2 separate regions of the Homo sapiens genome follow, and region 1 is linked to region 2. Evidence: promoter capture Hi-C in 16 types of primary human blood cells and fetal thymus (Javierre and others, 2016). All regions are on one chromosome and are shown on one strand. Each heading gives the region's core, a stretch centred on a gene start or on the middle of the fragment in contact. The rest is flanking DNA. Distances are from core to core; before and after follow the strand shown.

What was found. The method cuts DNA at HindIII sites, captures the fragments that hold promoters and counts their contacts. A CHiCAGO score of 5 or more calls a contact.
Region 1: a fragment that was not itself captured here is called in contact with the fragment with the promoter of HAUS6 in region 2 in 1 of 17 cell types (M1 macrophages); the score reaches 7.4 in M1 macrophages.

The regions. Positions count from the first base shown.
Region 1 is chr9:15,300,642-15,304,411 of GRCh38, reverse strand. All of the region lies in intron 1 of TTC39B (tetratricopeptide repeat domain 39B), which reads left to right. Among named protein-coding and RNA genes, the nearest start is that of TTC39B, 4.7 kb to the left of the region's middle. The HindIII fragment of the contact is 2,376 bases long and covers 63-2,438 here.
Region 2 is chr9:19,100,525-19,104,447 of GRCh38, reverse strand. It overlaps HAUS6 (HAUS augmin like complex subunit 6), which reads left to right and starts at 1,544. Exons shown (of 17, transcript NM_017645.5): 1 at 1,544-1,924. The coding sequence starts at 1,797. RefSeq lists an enhancer at 1,302-1,865. The HindIII fragment of the contact is 8,228 bases long and covers 1-3,923 here.

The DNA.
Region 1 (3,770 bases), core at 1-2,500, 3.8 Mb after region 2:
AGCACAAGCATCTTAGATATTATAATGGTGTGTGGCCATTTAAAGCTCAATCAACAAAAGCTTGTTTCTTAATATTTGAATTTCTCTCATTGGGTTTTCTTGTGTATTACACTAGCAACATTGATAATGGATTCATGGAAGATGTACAGAATATATTCAAGGTCAATCCAACAAATTTATAACGTAGAGATGGCTGTGGTTGGAAGACTTTCTCTCTAGTTGCCTGATCTTGAAGTCATTTTAGTTGGTTACCTTCACATACTTATGGGCTACCATTGGGTGCCTTGTGGCTTGCTTATATTTGGCCCTCAAATATAAGGATTTGAGAATTGAATGAAAATCATTTATATTTTATTATTTAATTCAATTAAGATTATTCAGCTCACCAATAATTATCTCAAGTGCCAAAAAGGAAAACATTGACAGTATTTGAATTAATATCTAGCAGCTAATTAAGTTAAAAATTTTCTCATATGAGGCCAGGTGTGGTGGCTCATGCCTGTAATCCCATCACTTTGGGAGGCTGAGGCGGGTGGATCACCTGAGGTCAGGAGTTCGAGACCAGCCTGACCAACATGGTGACACCCAGTCTCTACTAAAAATAACAAAAAAATTAGCTGGGCGTGGTGGCGGGCACCTGTAATCTCAGCTACTTGGGAGGCTGAGGCAGGAGAATCGCTTGAACCTGGGAGGCAGAGGTTGCATGAGCTGAGATCGCACCATTGTACTCCAGCGGGGGCAACAAGAGTAAAACTCCATCTCAGAAAAAAAAAAAAAATTTTTCTCATATGAAACAAAAGTTCACTAAAAATCACTTTTCAACCTGCGTAACGCAGTGAGACCCTGTCTCTACAAAAATAAAAATATGAATAGTTAGCTGGGCATGGTGGTGCCCGCCTGTAGTCCTAAGTTATTCTGGAGGCTGAGGTGGGAGGATCACTTGAGCCTAGGAGGTTGAGGCTGCAGTGAACTCTGATCATGCCACTGCACTCCAGCCTGGGTGACAGACCCCGTTTCAAAAAAAAAAAAAAAATCACTTTTCAGAAAATGATTTTTTCAATAGTTTTACTTTTGCTGGAAAATAACAGTTTTGAATGTTTTTTGAAAAGTTGATTACATTGCTATTATGTAGGTATAGAAATTGATAATTTGTATATATAATTTGATGCATTATATTTAACATTATATTAAAAGTCACTCAGCAAATACAGTTATAAAGTTAAATGTTCATAGATTTTTTTTTTGAGTTGGAGTCTCCCTCTGTTGCCCAGGCTGGAGTGCAGTGGCACAATCTCGGCTCACTGCAACCTCTGCCTCCTGGGTTCAAGCGATTCTGCTGCTTCAGCCTCCCAAGTAGCTGGGACTACATGTGCGTGCCACCACGTCCAGCTAATTTTTGTATTTTTAGTAGAGACGGGGTTTCACCATGTTGGCCAGGATGGTCTCGATCTCTTGACCTCGTGATCCGGCCGCCTCAGCCTCCCAAAGTGCTGGGATTACAGGCATGAGCCACTGCGCCCGGCCAAATGTTCATAGCTTTTTAAACATTTTTTTCTTTTTTTGGTGGGGGATGGAGTTTTGCTCTTGTCATCCAGGCTGGAGTGCAATGGCATGATCTCGGCTCACTGCAACCTCCGCCTCCCGGGTTCAAGCGATTCTCCTGCCTCAGCCTCCCGAGTAGCTTGGATTACAGGCGCCCAACACCATGCCCAGCTAATTTTTGTATTTTTAGTAGAAACAGAGTTTCAGCACGTTGGCCAGGCCGGTCTCGAACTCCTGACCTCAGGTGATCCACCTACCTCGGCCTCTCAAAGTGCTGGGATTACAGGTGTGAGCCACTGCACCGGCTTTTTTTTTTTTTTTTTTTTTTTTGAGACGGAATCTCGCTTTGTCACCCAGATTGGAGTGCAGTGGCGTGATGCATGTGCCACCACACCCGGCTAATTTTTTTGTATTTTTAGTAGAGACGAGGTTTCACCATATTGGCCAGGCTGGTCTCGAACTCCTGACCTTGTGATCCACCCACCTCGACCTCCCAAAGTGCTGGGATTACAGGCGTGAGCCACCGCGCCCGGCCTTTTTTTTAAAGACAGAGTCTTGCTTGGTCACCCAAGCTGGAGTGCAGTGGCATGATCTTGGCTCACTGTAACGTCTGCCTCCCGGGCTCAAGTGATTCTCCTGCCTCAGCCTCCGGAGAAGCTGGAATTGCAGGCGCCCACCACCACATCCAGCTAATTTTTGTATTTTTTTCAGTAGAGATGGGGTTTCACCATGTTGGCCAGGCTGGTCTCAAACTCCTGACCCCAAGTGATCCACCCGCCTTGGCCTCCCAATGTGCTGGGATTACAGGCGTGAGCCACCGTGCCCAACCTTACACTTAACTTTTAAAATATTTATTGAGTCATTCTGATCCTGTTATTGAATTAAAAAAGTAAGCTTTATACTTAGGCTCCTTTGAGGGTTGATAATGAAAAAAATTAAGACACTGACTAGGAAATAAATGGCTTATGTGACATGTTTTTACCGCCTGCTTTTTGGCCCAGGAATTTTTAGATCTAATTCTGATTTGGCTAATTTCTCTTTGGAAGTTTAGATGAAGTTTTGATAAAATTCATTACCACAATTTTCTTTCTTTTCTTCTTCTTTTTTTTTTTTTGAGATGGACTCTCTCTCTGTTGCCCAGGCTGGAGTGCAGTGGCACGATCTCAGCTCACGGCAACCTCTGCCTCCCGGGTTCAAGTGATTCTCCTGCCTCAGTCTCCCGAGTAGCTGGGGTTACAGGCATGCACCACCACGACCATCCAATTTTTTGTATTTTTAATAGAGACGGGGTTTCTCCATGTTGGTCAGGCTGGTCTCAAACTCCTGACTAAAGGTGATTCGCCCACCTGGGCTTTCCAAAGTGCTGGGATTATAGGCGTGAGCCACTGCTCCCAGCTGAGATTTATTCTTTCATTCCACCAACGTTCATTGAACGCCTGGCAGGTCCTAACAGTCTTTAAATGCTGGATGTACACACTAAAACAAGACAGTTATTACCCTTGAGGAGCACAACGTCAAGCAAAACACTTAACACAAGTCACTGTACTATTTCTATCTTTGGGTTAGGGTAGGTTTTAGGTAGGAAGGTCATATAATTTATCATTCAAAGCAGGGCACTCTGAGTAAATGAGCGCTTTCAGTAATTGCACTAAGACAACAGGTACAAACAGGGATGATTGGCTTCCCTTGTTTAGGGTCCGGCAAAGACTTGAAAGGAGAGATGGTATTTGAACTAGGTTTCAAAGGGCAAGTGGGATTGTGTTGGGCTCCCCAGTGGGAAGGCCTTGGGGGAAGTTGAGATGGGCGGGAATAAGAGAGCACTTGGTACAGTGGGAAGGAGAGTGTCAAGGGCAGAAACCAAAAAGGCTGACTTGGGTCGTGAGTCATTGTGTCCTGAATGTCACGCTAAGGAATTTGGGTTGTATCTCCTAAAAAATGGGAACCTGGAAGGTTTTTTTTTTTTTTTTTTTTTTTTTTTGAGACGGAGTTTTACTCTTTCACCCAGGCTGGAGTGAAGTAGTGGGATCTCGGCTCACTGCAACCTCTGCCCCCACAGCCTGGGTTCAACCGATTCTCCTGCCTCAGCGTTCCGAGTAGCTGGGATTACAGGTGCCTGCTACCACGCCCAGCTAATTTTTGTATTTTTAGTAGAGACGGGGTTTCGCCATGTTGGCCAGGCTGCTTTCGAACTCCTGACCTCAGGTGATCCACCTGCCTTGGCCTCCCAA
Region 2 (3,923 bases), core at 295-2,794:
CAGAGTCTCACTTTGTCGCCCAGGCTGGAATGCAGTGGAAGGATCTTGGCTCACTGCAACGTCTGCCTCCCGGGTTCAAGCGATTCTTCTGCCTCAGCCTCCCGAGTAGCTGAGCTGGGATTACAGGCATGCGCTACCACGCCCGGCTAATTTTGTATTTTTAGTAGAGACGGGGTTTCTACATGTTGGTCAGGCTGGTCTCGAACTCCCCACCTCAGGTGATCCGCCCACCTTGGCCTCCCAAAGTGCTGGGATTATAGGCGTGAGCCACTGTGCCCCGCCTCTCTCTCTTTTATTAAGGTGATTTTAGTGAGGCAGGAGACAATCATTGCCAGAGGTAGCAATGAGACTTAAAAGCAGGTTACCCAATCCACTTCCAGGCCCTGTTGTCAGTGGGGTTTGTGGTAGGCAACAGCTGTCAATTAAGACGACGGGCCGGGTGCGGTGGCTCACGCCTATAATCCCAGCACTTCGGGAGGCCGAGGAGGGCGGATCACGAGGTCAGGAGATCGAGACCATCCTGGCTAACAGGGTGAAACCCCGTCTCTACTAAAAATACAAAAAATTAGCCCGGCGTGGTGGTGGGAGCCTGTAGTCCCAGCTACTCGGGAGGCTGAGGCAGGAGAATGGCGTGAACCTGGGAGGCGGAGCTTGCAGTGAGCCGAGATTGCGCCACTGCACTCCAGCCTGGGAGACAGAGCTAGACTCCGTCTCAAAAAAAAAAAAAAAAAAAAAAAAAAAATTAAGAGGACTGCAGGCGGCCAGGCGCAGTGGCTCACGCCTGTAATCCCAGCACTTTGGGAGGCCAAGACCGGCAGATAACCTGAGGTCAGGAGTTCGAGACCAGCCAGCCAACATGGTGAAACCCCGTCTCCATTAAAAATACAAAAAAATTAGCCGGGCGTGGTGGCGGACACCTGTTAATCCCAGCTACTCGGGAGGCTGAGGCAGGAGAATCGCTTGAACCCGGGAGGCGGAGGTTGCAGTGAGCCGAAATCGCGTCACTGCACCCCAACTTGAGCAACAAGAGCGAAACCCCGTCTCAAAAAAAAAAAAAAAAAAAAAAAAGACTGCAGGACTGCAGGGGAGTATAGAGCCAGATTTCATTTAAAGCAGGAAAAGGAACATCCGGCATTTGAGGACATAGATTTCGCTAACGACAGAAATGAGGCTCAGAGATTACGTGACTTGATTAGAGTCACAGTGAGCATAGCGGAGGATGGAACCAATGCTTTAACTCTACACCGAGGCATAGTGCTCCATTTATGGCTTTTTTGTGACGTAACAACTAGGATACACAAGCAAATGGACCCCACTAACCAAGAATCAGAAACCCGAAGGCCCGAGGATCTGGGCACGACAGCGGTTAAGCAAGCGCAGAGCAAGTCGCTGGCCGCGCAATGCCCGGTGGGTCTTGCAGTTTCTTGGCTGGGCATGGCCGGAAGGGAGGAGAGAAGGACGCATTGCATGGCGGGAGATATAGTCTTTGCCGGAAGTCCCTCCTCCCTCGGACGCCTGGCGGCGCCGGCGCACACTGCTCTTCCTTAAGGGCGGGAGTCTCGGTTTGTGGTGGCTTCGCTGAGGCAGTGGTGGCCGCACTATACCGTTAGAAACTCAATTTCCCGGAGGTTGTGAGGCCCTTTGAGGCGAAATCGCTCTGGGCGTGAAAGGAGCAGGCGTTGGCAATGGAAGGACCACCGCGACCTCAGGCTGACCGTAGGGAGGGATCTTGAGGGCCCTCCGAGTCCCCTGGGCTTGCGCTTTCTTTCTTTGCAGCCACCGTGCCTACCGCGAGGATGAGCTCGGCCTCGGTCACCGCTTTCGAGAAGGAGCATCTCTGGATGTATCTGCAGGCGCTCGGCTTCGAGCCAGGCCCGGCAACCATTGCCTGCGGAAAGATCGTGTCGCACACGCACCTCGGAGTGTAAGGAGGCCGGGGCCGGCGGGGCGAGGGAGCCTGAACCGGGGGACGCCGGGGGACTCCCCCTTTTGTAGACCCCGGAGGTTGATTAATCAGAATTGGTTGAGCAGTTACTCTGTGCCAGGCATTGGCTCCAAAGTTCCTACTCCCAGTTGCTGCCAGCCTAGGGGCAGAGACAGACAGTAAATAATGCAAGAGTGCCGGAAGCGCTCTGTAGGGGAGTGCAAAAGTCTGCAGATGGGGAGAGTGCAAGACTGGAGGAGCAGCTTAACTCTGCCTATGTGGTGGAGGGGTGGTCTGTGAAGTAGTGGGAGGGATGGCGGGTGGTAGTGGAAGAGCATGGGAACCATATGTACAAAACACCTTTTGGACTCAAGGGAGCCTTTGAAGGTGGTTGTTTAATTTTATAATTTTTAATTTTTTAATTAGTAAGGCATGTTGGAGTTAGCATAAAACAACGGAGAAGGGTATTAAAAACAAATACCCTTTTAAGAAAAGTATGGAAAGTAAAAGCCCCTTCCCTACTTTTTCCACTTCTGTTTTATCAACTTTAGCCAGTATCTCTATTTAATCATTCCCACTGTAGGCCAAGAGGAATTCTTTTCTTTCATATGGAGTCTCCCTCTGTTGCCAGGCTGGAGTGCAGTGGCACGATCTCGGCTCACTGCACCCTCCAACTCCCTGGTTCAAGCGATTCTCCTGCCTCAGCCTCCCGAGTAGCTGGGATTACAGGCACTTGCCACCACGCCCAACCAATTTTTGTATCTTTAGTAGAGACGGGGTTTCACCATGTTGGCCAGGATGGTCTCGATCTCCTGAGCTCATGATCCACCTGCCTCGGCCTCCCAAAGTGCTGGGATTACAGGCGTGAGCCACCGTGCCCGGCCTCTATTTTTTTAAAGTATTATTATTTTAGAGACAGTAGCTAACCATGTTGCCCAGGCTGGTCTCAAAATTCCTGGGCTCAAGCAATCCTCCTGCTTCGGTCTTCCAAAGTGCTGGGATTATAGATATGAGCCATTGTTTTTTGTTTTGAGACAGGGTCTCCCACTCTGTCGCCCAGTCTGGAGTGCAGTTGTGCGATCACAGCTCACTGCAGCCTCCAACTCCTGGGCTCAGGCGATCCTCCCACTTCACCCTCCTGAGTAGCTGGGACTACAGGTGCGTGGCACCATGCCTAGGGTCGGCATGTTGCCCAGGCTGGTCTTGAGCTCCTGGCCTCCAGCAATCCCCCCGCCTTGGCCACTCCAAGTGCTGGGATTACAGATGTGAGCCACCGAGCCTGGCCTGTTTTATTTATGTTCATAGTTGTACATATTTTGGGGATATAAAATTTTGATATTTTGATACACTTATACAATGTATAAGGATCAGATCAGGATAAATGGGATAGCCATCATCTCAAACATTTATCTTTCCTTTGTGTTGGAAACATTTCAGTTCTTTTCTAGCTATTTTAAAATACACAATAAATTATTTTTAACTATAGTTTCACTTATGTACTATTGAACACTAGAACTTATTCCTTCTATCTAACTGTATATTTGTACCCATTAATCAACTTCTCTTCCTCCCTCCTTCTCTCCTTTTCCTTTCCTAGACTGTGTTAACCACCATTCTACTCCCTACCTCCATGAGGTCCACTTTTTTTGCTTTCACATGTGAGAACATGTGATATTTGTCTTTCCGTGCCTGGTTTATTTTACTTAAGATAATGACCTCCAGTCCCATCCATGTTGCTGCAGATGACAGGATTTTCTTCTTTTTGTGTGGCTGAATAATATTCCATTGTGTATATATACCACAATTTCTTTATCCATTCATCTGTTTTCTTTATCCATTCAACTTAGGTTGATTCTGTATCTCGACTATTGTGAATAATGTGTCACTAAACATGGGAGTGCAGATGCCTCTTTCATATACTGATCTCCTTCCTTTTGGATATATACCCAGCAGTGGGATTGCTGGATCATAGGGTACTTCTATTTTTAGTTTTTTAAGG